Regions from separate parts of the Homo sapiens genome. Here region 1 is linked to region 2. The links are contacts of gene promoters, found by promoter capture Hi-C in human tissues and cell types (Jung and others, 2019). All regions are on one chromosome and are shown on one strand. Each heading gives the region's core, a stretch centred on a gene start or on the middle of the fragment in contact. The rest is flanking DNA. Distances are from core to core; before and after follow the strand shown. Region 1 has its middle 13 kb from the start of MRGPRX2. Region 2 holds the start of DBX1 (developing brain homeobox 1).

What was found. Contacts are between HindIII fragments. The study calls those that stand out against the background at their distance.
Region 1: a contact is called between a fragment that was not itself captured here and the fragment with the promoter of DBX1 in region 2, in 1 of the 25 tissues and cell types used here (lymphoblastoid cells).

Annotation. Positions count from the first base shown.
Region 1 is chr11:19,069,829-19,077,160 of GRCh38, forward strand. No RefSeq gene overlaps it. Among named protein-coding and RNA genes, the nearest start is that of MRGPRX2, 13 kb to the left of the region's middle. The HindIII fragment of the contact is 5,566 bases long and covers 1-5,550 here.
Region 2 is chr11:20,157,431-20,164,790 of GRCh38, forward strand. DBX1 (developing brain homeobox 1) reads right to left here and starts at 3,045. Exons shown (of 4, transcript NM_001029865.4): 1 at 2,528-3,045; 2 at 1,761-1,862. The coding sequence starts at 2,894. RefSeq lists enhancers at 1-39, 3,425-3,926, 3,927-4,426, 5,551-6,052. The HindIII fragment of the contact is 9,910 bases long and covers 420-7,360 here.

The DNA.
Region 1 (7,332 bases), core at 1,518-4,017, 1.1 Mb before region 2:
TCTCTGCATGATGTTTCTTGTATCTGTGCATCTGATGGAACATTTACCTCTTCCAAACTTTCTAGAATCATCTTTGCAGAGAAAGACTTTCACCTGCAGTTTGGTCTTGGTGTGCTGGTTGGTGAGGACAACTCTGTTTTTGGGTAAGTTGAGTGATATAATCTCTATGCAGCTTCCTCATTTGTTGGCTCACTGAATAACTGTGGGTGCCTCAATGACTTAGGTTGTAGAAGTTTGTGGCGGTGGCAGTAGTGGTGGAGGTTGTTAAAGTCTTCATGAGCGAGGGCTTTTGGGGTCCTCTTATTCTTATTTCCCCCACAGTGTGGAGACTTAGCTGAGAAAATCCTTCTCGGTATCAGGTCGGACATGGCCTACATGCAGCTGCAGTGGTACTAGGTTCCAGGTGAAGGTGCTTAGAGCATTTGTGGGGTTGGGGTCCTAGGCTCAGTGTATCACAAACCTATTGTGGCACCTGGATCTTGTGGTGCAGGTTTGCTCTCTGTGTTTATTGGATGTAGGTTGTCCAGAGAGCCGTGATCTGGGACTCTGAGGCACCTTTAGCAGTTTGGGCTCAGGGGCTGGGTTGTAGCTGCAATTCTACTTCTAGGGGCCAGGGCAAAGAACTGGTCTGACTCAGGAGAAGAAGGAGTGCTCTGGAGGTTTGGGCCTGGGGAGCAGAATATGGCTGCAATTCAGGACCCTGAGCCAATAGGGCTTGGTGGCAACTCAGGTGTCAGGGATGAGGAACCATGTGGTGACTCTAGACCTTGGAGATGGTGGGGTATATTTTAGACTCTGTGAGGCCAGGTACAATGGCAGCGAGGACCCTAAAATGTCAGAGCACAACTGTTGTCTTGGCCCTGGGGGGCAAGGAGCAGCACAGCAAAGACTCCACTTCCTGAGGAGTGAAGTCTGACACTTAACTTTTTGCAATACTCATTGTGTGAACTTTAAGAAGCTCCTTAACTTTCCTGGATCTCTATTCCTCATTCCTAAAATAGGACTAATCCTGTAGTTCTCCAAGGGTGTTTTGAGAGTCATTTGGTTAACTTTTGCATGCTTCATAAATGACGGTATTGGTTAGTCCTGAGTCTTCTGCATAATAACTGTTTGATATTGAATAAGCTATTTTCTCTCTCAGAGCCCCAATTTTGAAATCTGTTAAATACATATAAGATATGCCTCATAGAAGTATCAAATTAAATTGTAAATTAAGCAATATAAAGCAACTGGTACAATGCCTAGCTGATAGATGCTTGATAAATAGTACCCCTGTTATTCTAATTCAAATTTCACTGCCAAGTTTTGAGTTAAATTTAGAGTTTCAACTTCATCAAAATTTTACTGTTATATACTTTAATGAGGAATTTTTTAAGGGATTCTGAAGCAGGGAGCACAAAGAGCAAGCTCTTAACATTTTGGCTTCCGGTTGCCGAAATATTTAATACCACATCAGATTGTGAAGGGATAGAAAAGAAATGTAATGTTACCACATTACGTCACTAGGTGGTAGTCAAGGATCATTGCTTTGTTAGTATGCGGTAACCCTTGACTGGCCAGCAGGGGGCCCATGTCAATGACATTGCTGGAAAAAGTTTGGGATCTCAAGCCGATGTGTGTTTGTGCGTGGTGTGTGTGCCTGCGCGCAAGAGGGAATAGGGAGGGAGGGTGAGGACAGAGGGAGGGAACAGGAAGATGAATCCAAGTGAGACGAATGCCCTGTGAAGTTTGGGAACCGGTCTCTACTCACTGTCTACTTACCCACGCCAATTTTCTTTTCTTTTCCTTTCTATTTTTTTTTTTTTTTTTTTTTTTGACAAAGTTTCCCCCTGCACCCAGGCTGAAGTGGAGTGGCAGGATCATAGCTCGCATCTCCAAACTCCCGGGCTCAAGCCGTCCTCCCACCCCAGCCTCCCGAGTAGCCAAGATTATCCATCCCAATTTAAAGTAGAGCAATGAAGGGGACCCATGTAATTTTTGCAACCTGAGCATTCATGGATGGCAGCATGTACAGCAGCTCCTGCGAGTGTCTATTAATCAACCACTGAAATGCTGGTCTCAAATCCCGATCTACTAAGTCTGTGAATCCAGGTTAGGACTACTAATTTAATCTTACTGTCATGTTGCTTAACCTTACTAGTCAGTCCTTGGCTTCCCCATCAGTAAGATGGCTGTTGTGAGGTATTCAAGGTGCACATGTGAGTGCTTAGCACATGCTTAAAGCCGTGTGACATCAGAATGTGCCCTCTGTCATCGTCAGGACCATCTTTATTATTTCACCGACTTTCCCAGTCTTCCACAGGGTTTCTGAAGCTTGCTCCTAAAATCCCAATCCCCAAGGCCAGCTGAAACTGCTCAGCACGTGTCTGCCACGTTAGGCTTTGGGGCAGGGCAATAGCCTGAGGACAGCAGATGGAAGCACTGGGCAAAGACACGGTGCCTGCACCTGCTGCTATGCGATGGAGGGAGGTACGCCCCAGGTTCCCTTCTGTTCCTGCTCCTCTGTTAGAGCGGATACCTCATGTGAACATGGGCTGGAGACTCGATAGCCCTATAGAGATGGAAAGGGTTATTACTTCTGGTATAATTCTGTCATTTGTTGGGAAACAAAAGAGTAAGTCTTACTGCCCATTACGTCTCAGTAACAACAACTGATCTCCATGTCTTTCTGACTTTCAGGGAGCCCCAGTGACCTTCACGTCACCCTCTTCTCCCCAGGTTCCTTCAGGCCTGGCTGCCATCTGGCAAGTCCTGCCTGTCTGGTTTTCCCAGGCTTCCCTCTGCCAGTGTTTGGCCAGGGCGGGCCAGGGAGAGGCTGTAGGGACCAGCTGCCAGGGGTGGGCAGGGTGTGTCTGACCCCACGGTGGAGGGTTGGGCAGCCAGGGAGGAGGGCATAGTGTGGAGGTCTGCGTCAGTGAAGACTTGGGTGCAGTGAAGGCCTATAGCTCAGGAGGCTGAGGGCGACTCCCTGAAGGTTGGGCTGGTCCCAGGCTTTGCTTGTTGGATGGAGGAGACCTGTGGGGCCTCTGTGTCAAACCAGCTCCTGTGTCCAGCCCAAATTTAGAAAATCAGTGTGGGGGAGCCAAGCTTACCCCAATCCACAGATAACTGCACAGTTTGGAGTTATGCTTTGAGAGAGTGAAGGGAAGGACTTGTCGGGGCAGGATGTGTTCCAGAATATAAGGATCCGAACAGTGTGAGCCGTTTCTCACATCCCTCTCAAGTGCTAACCTACTCAGCCTCCAAGCCCATGCTCCGCAGGCCTCTGTGCTCTGCACTCCTCTCTCCTCTTTGCCTTCTGTAGTCCCCTTTACCTGTTAGGCCCCAGAAGGCTCCCGTTTTGGGGTATAACCCAGGTCCTAGGGCACTCCCCTCATCTGAACTCTGTAGCTGCTGCACCTGTCTCCTCTGCTCCTCTAGGCTGAAAGCTCCCTGAGAGCAGGGCCTATGTTATTCATTCATGGATTCACTCATCCATTTCTTCAATGAATATTGATTGTGCACTCCTTGCTACTTGATAGGCCTTGTTTTAGGTGCTGGAACTGGCACACTGGGTGAGGTCTGAAATTCAGCTCCTGACTCCTGGCCCAGTGCTCTTCCCAACAGATTCCCATCCCCACCTACCTCACCCAGAGCCCAGCCTCCTGGATATAGGTCAGGGAAGCAGTGCCCAGAGCACCACCTTCCCCTCAGGACCCTGATAGGATATTGCCTGCAGCATTTTCCAGCAGGCACAAAGGGCTGAGAGGTACATCTTTGCAGTTTCCTTCTTCCCCTAGGACATTCTGGGAACCACAGGGATATGCACTACCCTTTCCTTCCTTTTGCAGGGTGGCGACAGGGACCAGGGCCACACTCACTGGGCCTAGGGGCAACCCTGGTTCAGACACTCCAGGCTACATGACCTCAGATGACTCCTGTAACCCCCTGAAGCCTTGGTTTCCTCATCTCTAAAAAGGTGATAGTGATACAGGAACTAGAAAGAAATTATTTAGGCAGATAGTGAGGGTAAGAGAGTCCTCAGTAAGGTTTCCTTTTAATAAAAAGCAGCCCCTAACTTGTTTCTTTTCTAAGAAAAAGCAACCTGAAAAATCAAGCTGCAAGCATAGATAAGCAAGCTAAAAGCTCACATAGGTAAATACTGGCAGCTGTGGCAATAGAAAAGCGATATCTGGAAGCCAGGTATATTCAACACGGAGGTTCCCTCTTCCCTTTCCTTTGTCACCACATGTGCAGTAAAAAGCAGGCAACATGGCACCGGCCAGGTAGAGACCCCATCTGCATAATAAAAGATTAGGGTGGGATGACCAGCTTCTTTGCATGCTATGCAAACAGCACACCTGGTTTGACCAATCTCTCATGCCCTATGTCAATCAGACACTGCCTCCTCAAGCTCATCTACAAAACGCCTCCATGCATTTCACCGTGGAACTGGAAGATCCAGTCCGGAGCCCCTCTCTCTGCAGGAGAGAGTTTTTCTCTTTTCTCTTTCTTTCACCTATTAAACCTCTGCTCTTAAACTCACTCCTCGTTTGTGTCCATGTCCTCGATTTCCTTGGAATGAGGCAATGAACCTCGGTTATTGCCCCAGACCAATGGCACCACTTTGATACCAAGAGTATCTTCTCCCTAAGGTGTTTTGAGAATTCTTTGATTCTGTGCCTTCAATAAATGGTAGCTCCTGTCCTCCCTGCCCCCACCCCACAAGCCTGAGGACTGAAGTCAACTCCTGTCCATGGCAAATCAGGCTCCTGCTTAGCAGACTCGGAGCTACAGGAAGCCCCGTCTCCCTCTTCTAGTGCTCAGCCCTAGCGAGAGTAACAACAATAATAATAGTTATTATAACAATGTTGATCTTTTTGATAGCACTTGCTTTGTGTCAGGCACTGTTGTAAGCACTTTACATTTATTAACTCATTTACTGTTTGGTACAATCATATGAAGTGGTATCATTATCATCCCCCTTTTTCAGATGATGAAACCTAGAGAGGTTAAGCAACTTGCCCAAGATCACACAGCTGATAAGTAGCCATTAGAAATGAAGAGACATGGTTGGGCACGGTGGTTCATGCCTGTAATCCCAGCACTTTGGAAGGCCGAGGCAGGCGGATCACCTGAGGTCAGGAGTTTGAGACCAGCCTGGCCAACATGGTGAAACCCCATTTCTACTAAAAATACAAAAATTAGCCGGGCATGGTGGCACATGCCTGTAATCCCAGCTACTCAGGAGGCTGAGGCAGGAGAATCGCTTGAACCTGGCAGGTGGAGGCTGCAGTGAGCCGAGATCGCACCATTGCACTCCAGCCTAGGTGACAGAGCAAAACTCTGTCTCAAAAAAAACAAACAGAAATCAAGAGACATTCTGGACAGCAGTCAGGCTACATTTGCATATAGTTGGTTGCCACATCAATGGCCAAGGTAAAAAGGTGAGTTGAGAATATACGAACTGGGTCATAAATGATGTGAACACAGCTAAGGACTTTCCCAGGACACCTGGACAGCAGGCCTCTGCCGACTCACCCTCTTTTTGTGCCCACTGAGTTGTGCTGCCTGGCACCTGAAAGGGCACATCAATGTTCTGGAGAAGGAAAAGGATGGCAGGAGAGTAACTGGTCTCTGCTCCCTCTTTGGGGCACACAGGGCTTCCAGAAATTCTTGCAAATGTGCCTGAGCCCACATAGGTGCTCTGAAGTAAAAACCACAGAGCTCACTCACACCCCAGAAGTGTTCCCAAATACATTCCCCCATGAAAATTTTCTCTAATATATTTAACTCTACCCACCCCCCAAACTGCTGATGGCAATTTAAAATATTATTTTCCATTCTGCCTCTGTTCTCATTTGTAGAACAGGGGAAGTCAGAGAAACATGGGCTGAGGGAAAATTCATGAGGACTTAGCCACCTGGGAGGTGTTTCTCAAGAGCTGCCAGTGTCGTTGGCTCAGCCAGGGCTCTTGGCGACATGGAGACAGAGCCAGGAGGGCAGGGCTCATGTCTGCTGTGTCTTGCTTCATTCTTAGGTTCTGTGTAAGAGTCCATTTGGAAACAGCTTCTGTGCTAAAAACAGAATTTGAGGGCTGTTGGGCTAGATAATTCCTAGATTCCATCTTGACTGCTACCTCCTAGGGCTCATTCATTCATTCCTCAAATATCACGCAAATACCAGGAGCTCTGCAGGCACTGAGGATCCAGCAGTGAATAAGAGTTATGGTCTCTGCCCTCATGGACCTCAAATACAATGTGAAAAAAGATGAAAAGTAAGAAAATAATGAATAAATGGAAAAATGACACATTATCATAGCTGCCATGAGGGAAATCAATAGGACAAGGTGATGGAGAGTCACTTGGGGGCTCCTTTGGATGGAGTGGTCAAGGAAGGATTCCCTGAGAAGTTTAAGCTGAGCCCAGGAGGATGAAAAGGAACCAGATTTGTCAAAAACCAAGGAAAAAATGTTCCTGGTGTAGGGAACTGCGAGTGCAAGTGTCCTGAAGCAGGAAAGAGATTAGAGTTTACTGTGGCTGGAGCAGAGGCAGGGATAAGTCAGACCTAAGGGGAGGTTTATTCTAAGTGCAAAGCCATTGGAGAGTTCTAAGCAAGGAAGAGGCACCATCTGATTTTCTCATTTACATTAAGCAGATCACTTTTCTGTGGAGAGGAGAATGCCTTGCAAGGGGCAAGGAGATCCACTAGGAAGCTATTGCAGAAGAGGGTGATAACTAGGGCTGGGGATGGCCATAGGGATGAGGAAAGTGGATGGTTTGAGGCAGAGCCAACTGGATTTGCTGAAGAACTGGCTGTGGGAGGTGGGTGCAGGGGTGAGAATTAAGTCTCCTGAAAGTGTGAAACAGACCCCGTTTTCCTACTTGGATGATATGCGTGCTCCCAGAGGTGCCTCACCCTCCATCCTCACTCACTGGAATACTTCTGTTTGCTTTTGCCACTTGTCACACTGGCTTCTCTGTGCTTGACACCCCAAACTCATTCCTACCTCAAGGCGTTGGCACTGCCTGGGCTGGTTGCCCTGAACTTCCCGTGGTTGGTAACTTCTTGACACTTGGGGCTCAGCTCAGCCATCTCCTCTCCCCTGCCCCAGCTGGCCTTTCTTGAACACACAACTTGTAGCCTGACCCACACCCTCCTCTACTCACTCTATTACATTACCCTGTTTTATGCTCTTTACTTTCATGATCTGGAAAGATCTTGTTCATTTATCTGCTTGGGATTTTCCCCATCTGCTTCCACTAGAATGTAAATTCCATGGGCAGGCAGCCCCTTGTCTGTCTCATTCAGCAGCTCTAAAGGGCAAGGCTGGCTGGGGGTGGCCCTGCAGTG
Region 2 (7,360 bases), core at 1,795-4,294:
ACCGTGCAAACCCGGATTAGGTAAAACCACGGAAACAGAGAAAACAGCCCCCACAATAGCCTGTTTCGTTTTTCCATTCAGTGGACTTAGGGAAACAAACCTGCGTACATCAACTAAAACAGCAATAGAAAAAATAAATTACTAAAATAAAAATAAAATATCCAGCCGAGGCCACTGTGTTTCTCCCCTAAGCTTTTATCATTTCAGTGGCTTTTGCATTCTTTAGATGAAAATGAGGTGCTTTACTATTTTGATAAAGAGGGAAAAATCCGATTTAGATTTTTTGAAAAATCCAATAAGTATTCATCTTTTTTATATTAATCCTTCCTCCCCTCCCCCACGAAACGTAAAGAATTCGGCCCGAATACATGAAAAGTGGCAGCTAATTAGCACATTGACTGCTTCCCAATGGGTATTGGTATGATAAAAGGGGGGAGAGTTTTGCTTTAAGCGAAAGAAAAAAACAAAACAAAAAGAAACAGAGACTCTAATGAAGCGTGAATGGTAATTGTGTAGTAATGAACTAACAGAAAAAGACTGAGGACAAGCAGCGAAAGCCATATATTACTGGGACAAAAGAGATTTACACTTTCAAACTAAACACAACTGCAGGCCAAGACCATTGGGAGAATACTGATGGCAGAAGCTTCTCTTCCCCGAATCGTTTTCATTAAATGGACATGAAAAGCTATTTATAAAGCTCGGGTTGTTTTTGTTAGAGCATTGAGATGAGGGAGAAAGGGAGCAAATTCCATTATTAGCAGCAGTGTGAATGGTGGTGGTGGTGGTGGTGGTGGTGGTGGTGGTGGTGCTGGGGGGTGGGGGGAGGGCGAATTATCTCTCCCCTTTAAAAAATCAATTGCTTGTTTCTTTTGCTGATATTTGGGAGTGCTGTCGTGATTTTACCCATCCCCCGCAGGCCATACCCAGTTTTTCTTCTCTGTATAGGGACTCTCCTGCCTCCTTTTTAGTTTTGACCAGTGGCAGAGTTTTTGAGCCATAGTTTGAATCATCAGTGAGGTTACAGGAAGAAAACCTGGTGGAAGCTGCCTAAGGTGTTGCTGTTTTAGGCTGGGACACAATTATGGGCTTTCTTCTAACTGCTTCTTATTTTGCAAGATCAACGGTATTTTATAATACAGGGTGGGAAAGGAGTATGAGAAGGGGTTTGGAAATCAGGCTGGAAATAGGTTGGGATTGGGGGAGGATCTAATCCCCCTCCCCCTGGGCGACCCTAGGCATCCCACACAAGAGGGCACCCCATGTGGTCTTGTGAAAAGCCCGAAGCCCTGAATGAGTCTTAAAGAGAAATTAGCCCCGGCTGGTAGGTGTCTCTCGGCGGCGTGGAGGGACTAGGGCCGGTCTGTGTGTGGCTGCCCGGAGGAGCTGACCAATTGGTCATGGTGCTGAAACCTTTGTGGGGAATCGTGGCCAAGTGCACTGACTCTGTGGGAAAACGGCGGCGTGAAGGGATGCCAACAGCTCCTCGCCGGGAAGGGAACCGCCTCAAATTGGGACCATGACAATTCCTGCTAATTTGTAGAGCAGGGAATTGGTGCAAAGTGTCAAGCAGTCACTGCTTGTGCTCAATAGGGCATCAAATTGGCGCGACGGATTCATGAATGTTATACGCCTCGCAACCTCTGAACCAGAGCATAACCCCGAGGGGTGGACGGAGAAATACGGCTTCGGAGCAGGGAGCGATGGGCCGGGGCTGGGGCGCCGCCCTGCCTCGCGCAAAGAAGGGGGACGAGACCTACCTGGGAAATAAGAAGATCTGATGAAAGGCTGAAAAGACCCTTCGAAGTAGGGAAAGGCGAAGGTCTTGGGAGGGACGCTCTGGAGCAAGGCTGGGGATGTTTCTGGTGGGCGATGGAGGGGGGACAGAAGGAGAGAGGGAGACAGAAAGAATCTGATTACGTACTTGCCTATTGTATAGCACACTGAACACACGATATAATTAGCCCTTCATCTGGTTTCAAAGACATCTTTCTTATACGTTGACAGGGTAAAATAAATCTTCCCAACATTGTCTTATCTGTAAAACTCTTTTCTTTCTCCCCAACGTAATTCTCTGCGCCGTCCCACTCTACCCCAATCTCCATCCTAGGCACTAACGAGATAGGACTGAGTGGGGAGGAAAGAAATTGCAGATTTATAATATTTGCTAATCCAATAAATATATCATATTGAGTTTAAAAAAAAAAACTGTCTCCTAGAAGCTCGAAGGCAGAAACGCAGACGTCCAGGAGCGTGCGCTCAGCGTTACTGCACCAGATGACTGCGCACAGTCTCCGACTGCGTGTGCTCAAGTTCACTCCGAGGATGGGGCGAGCCTGGAGGCTTTTCTTCCCCGGAATTGACTGGACTATTCTCACATTGCCTGACGTAGGGTCTCAGAGTTCGTGCGTATTGTGTGTGCACCGATGTGTGTGTGGGGGCCCGCTCGCTAGAGGAAACTGAGGCCAGGATGACTCCGCGCATGCCTAGTACCTGAATGGGCCCTTAGGGTTCTGACCTCGCTTACCTGTTCTGGGCCCCGAGGAGAGGATGGCGTTCACTCCAAACTTCAGAAACGTCGTCTCGCTGGCAGGGGAGAAGGCAGTCGGCGGAGAGCCGCCCCGTCGGCTGCCGGGACCCGGGGAGCCCAGGTCCGAGGCCCCCGTGTCGGTGAGGGCCGTGGGGGCCCCCTGCCTGGGCGGCGACATGCTGGCGGTGGGCACGCTGCGGGGCAGGTAGGCGGGGGGTCGGCTGATGCGGATCAGATCCTCCACCAGGAAGCTGGAGTGGCCGGAAAATGCCGACTGCAAGGACTGGGGCAGCGTCAAGGTGGGCGTGGGCCGCAGGAGGCTAGGGTACCCGGCGGGGGGCGCGAGGAGGCCGGGGAACATCATGGTAGGCGCGGGCGGGCGAAATAACCCTTCTTTCAGTGGCCGGAGGGTAAACGCCTCGCTTCCCGCCCCTCCCGCCCCCACAGTGTCCTCTCTCTTGGGCTTAGCAAACGTCTCCAAGTAACAATCCCACTTGGGCGTCTGCGAGTCCTCCGTGGTCCTCTCGTCGAGGTGATGGTTTTATAGTGGCCCGCCCGCTAAAGCACTTTGAAAAGTGACAGCTCTGACAATGAAGTTCAACAAAGTTCTCCACTCGAGCTTCATTCGCCGGAGGCTCTGGACTCTCTGATTGGCGCAGGGGTGCAATTTATGATTGGATTAGTCTTCATAAGCATGGCCCGCACAATGGGCCGGCAACAAAGGCCCGCGCGCATCAATTTTGCATATCGACCGCCTCTTTGCAATACAGTGCGCCCCCAAAGCTCTCGCCAAAGGTTTTTGTTCCGAAGCAACACCCGGGCTAATTAAATGCCTATTTAGAAGTTTCAGATGACATCTTGCCTCATAGAAAAGGAATTATTTAAAGAACCCACTAAATTTATTTGCAGCTCCCCTGCTAAGCCTGGAAAATAAATCAATAAATATTCATAGAAATACATCTTCAGGCTATCAGCAAAGTTGCCCTCCCTCTTGTGGGGGTAGGGCAATGAAAAGTTTCAAGTCAGTGGACATGAAAATATACTCCCTTTCCGGTCTCTAGCCCTATCCGTTACTCCAGCTGAAGCATAAAGCAAATGTAGGGGTGAGTGAAATCAGTGTTAGAAGTCCCATTCTGACGACTCAGGGAAACTTGGAAACGGATGCTTTGGGGCCACTGGATGTGTGTCCGTAAGAGTGGGGAGAGGTCTGGAGTTATTTCATTTCGGGAGACTGGTTGAGTTTGAGCGTTGGTGGATACCTGAAAAGTAAAACGAGTCTCCTTCAAATTCCCAGCAACTTGGAAAACGATTTTCTCTAGGAGTTTCTGCAAGGGGCTGTCCGCACCTCACCTTGCGGGAGGAGCGGAGGAGAGCGGCGCTGGGCTGCCGAGCGGCAGGATTCCGCTTGCAAAGAGCTTAGGCTGACCGGAAACTGCCTCGGGCAAGGGTATCCAAAGGCTGTGAGTGCTATGCTGGCCGTTCTCCAAACACAGGGAGCTCTCGGCAGTTTAAGTTGAAACTCACAGCCCTGACATTTTAAGCCATAGCAGCGAAGGTCCAGACGTCGTCTGGAGAGAACCCTACCACTTGCGGGGCCCTTAACTTGGCCCAAGGTTTGGCAGCTTCTTAATTAACTACAACGCACAAACGCGTGAAAACCAGAGGGAAGGGATGCGGTTCCCAAGAATGTTGGTCCACTCCGGGAAAGCCTCCCCTGAATGTGGGGCTTCAAAGGAGAATCTTCCTGGAGACAGTCCCTTCGCTTTCCTCTGGTTGGGGCTGAGGTGGTACTAAGACTCGATTCCCCCCATTTCTCTGTTCGGCGAGATAACAGATGTGTTAAATGTCCCATTCATCTCTTTAGTGTGGCTGAACCTCCCCAAAGAGAAGTGTGCAGCCCCGCCAGGCCGCCCTGATCCTATTAACCATGAACTAACTGTCACCTTCAGCTGGTTTTCCTTTTTGCTTTTTAACACAAAGCTTTCTCAAAAATCTTATTAACCAGCTTTATTTCTCTCGATGGTTTTGTTCGGGGTGTTTTGTGTTGATGATCTCCATGTCGCTGCTTTAACCATTCAATAAAAGTGCATCTGCGATTTATATCACATTAAACCAGAAACGGAGCCGGCTAAAACTCTCCCTTGATTCAAATTAAAAAGTTATTTAGGGCCCAGCTCCAGAGGCGAATTAATGCTAGAAGATGACGTAAGTGCGGAGTTTCTGAGCCCAAGACCGCTCATGCTCATGGGCAGCGGGAGAAAACCAATCAGGAAAGAAACAACTTTTAAATAAGGGGCTATTTAAATATGGGAAGCGCCTTGCTGGAGTTAATTGGAGTCCCCTGGAAACGGAAGAAGGAGATCTGTCGAAGAACGTCAAAAGTTCCTTTTTGAAGTTTGCAATAAAATAGGTGAGAAAAGCATAAGCTATCTGAACACCTGCACTTTAACCTTGCCATGAGACAGTTTCCCATTGCAATAAGACTGGCTCTCTCCCTTCCTCTCCCTTACTTTTTTCCTCAGGCCCACCTCCCTCCTTCTCCCACTCCCTTTCCCTCTGCCCCCCACCCCTTTTTCTCCCCGAGTCTTAAGGACTTGGGCAATTGCCAGTTCCCAGAAGGACGCGCCGGGGGCTTCAGGATGTTTGATTCCCTACCGGTGAAGCGCTTGTCCAAGTCTTCCGGATGATCAGAATAGAGTCTATATTTGCCAAAATCAACTTGGATTTTGTTTTTTTTTGGAGGGGGGAACGGTAAGAACTTGAAGCCAGCGTGAGCCCTTCCCAGCTCCTCCTTCCCTGTTGGGGCATTTGCCGGGGTGTAGTTTTCACCGTTTCCTGTCCGTCGACAGGCTTCATGCCACCCCTAGCCCCCACCCCAAGCCCCAGCCATTCTGCCTCACTATAGACTAACTGCTACTAACTTCTCGGCTTTTAAAAGTCTACCCTGCCATTTTTTGGAGGGTGGATCAACCCCTTGCTGCGATCCACGTGGACCCTGCTTCCTGGGGTCGGTCTCCACAGCCTCCTAAAGAATTCCTAAAGCGCCAAAGAGGAAAAGTGAGGGCGGGGGCGAGGGGGCGAGGGCTGGCCGCCCGTGAAAGGAAAAATAAATCCTAAGGAAGCAAGAAATCGGACGAAAGGATCTTACTTTAAGTGATCTCCTTGAACGCGTCTTTTCAAACTCCGCGATAGCCCAAGGAGCTGCGCGGCGCGGCGGCTGCGGCTAAGACCTGTGACTAATGCCATTTGACCTGAGCCCATGGGGTTTTGTGCGTCCTGCCATTCACTGTTATGTCGTTATCTTCAAGTTTATTTCGGAGAAATCACTCGCGTTCTTTGTCTCAAGGCTGAGCTTTCTGTCTATTTCTCTTTCAAGAGAAAAGAAGACGGGAGGGGAAAAGAGAGAATCGGAGTCCCTGGTTTGGGGTTTAAGGTCCTTGCCTACGCTGCGGGGGAGGCCGCAGCAGATCCGGCTGGGGCTCCCCGGGCCTAGGTGGCCAAAGCTGCCGAAACCTGCCTTGGATAGTAGAAAGAGCGTGTCGGAACGCACTCTGGGGGTTTCGTTCCCCCCGCGCAGGGGAGAGCGAGCATGTTCCTGCCCCGGGCGCCGTGCGGTCGCAGCAGCAGCGCGGCCCTCTCCAGTGCGAGCCGTGCCTGGAATGTCTCGGGTAAGCGAAGGGCCAGCAAGCGAGGCGAAACGGACACTATAAAGCAGAGAGTGGTGTGAGCTTCCCCGCCCTCTGAAAAGATGGCAAGTCTCCGTTTCGGGAAGGCTGCAACGCTAAGGTCACCCTTTGCAGGCTTCGGACCCCCAGTCCTCCATGCTCCCTGCCGGAGCAGCCAACAGAGTGAGAGCGCATTTTGGAAAGATTGGCCGGATGCCGGGCGGCGACAGGGAAAAGCGCCCGACGCCTGGCTTTGGGGTGGGGGGTGTGGGGAGGGGGGGCAGGGAGCTAACGGGCGAGGCGAAGGAGGAGGGCTGCGAGGCTCGGACTGAAAGAGCTTTCCTACCGCCCCAGCCCCTCTTCGCAAGCCTCTCTTTTAAGACAGCTCTAAGGGGTTCACCTTCAGAATAGGCCACTAGGAGCTACCGCTGCCCCAGCTCTTTCTAGTGTCTCCCCCCTCACCCCCCATCCCTTTCACACTCACTCCCCTCTTTTTCCTTGAAAATCCTTCTATTGTGCCAATCAAGCAGATGGTTTGCAGGAAATATAGCTTGGCCTCGCTGACCGAAACAAATTTTAACTAGCTTTCCAAGCCCGAAACGTTTGTTTTGCTCTTACAAAATAGCCCCCAAAACAGCTGGCAAGGGTGAATTAAACCCATTAAAGACACATTTATAAGAAATTATATTCACATAGATTGCCCGAACCCCCTTGTGCTGCCTAAGAGAGGAGATGAGCGCATTTAAATGAAAATGTCACCGGACGCTCCCCTCCTTAACGTAGCCTGAAAGTCTCAAAACATTTTACTAAATAGATTAACTTGACTATTGTCTTGCATCACATTTATCAGCTTCATTAAGTGAATAGCTGAACAAATATATTACGCATGCATGAAAAGCTCTTTTTCGAGGAGTCTCATTGTATCCTCAGCCCTGACAGGTGGTTAACTGTGTGTTGTTTTTTTGTGTGTGTGGGTTTTTTTGGTGTTTTCTTTTTCTTTTTTTTTATTATTATTTTTTAACCCGAATAAAGGGGATCTCTGTAGAGCGGTGCAGGGCTTGCAGTGCGGACTTGGAGAAAGTTTACTTCAACTCCCTTCTTGGACAACCCTCTGCCCTAGCAATATTAAAACCATGTTGGGCCAAGGAGATATGAGACCGTTCAA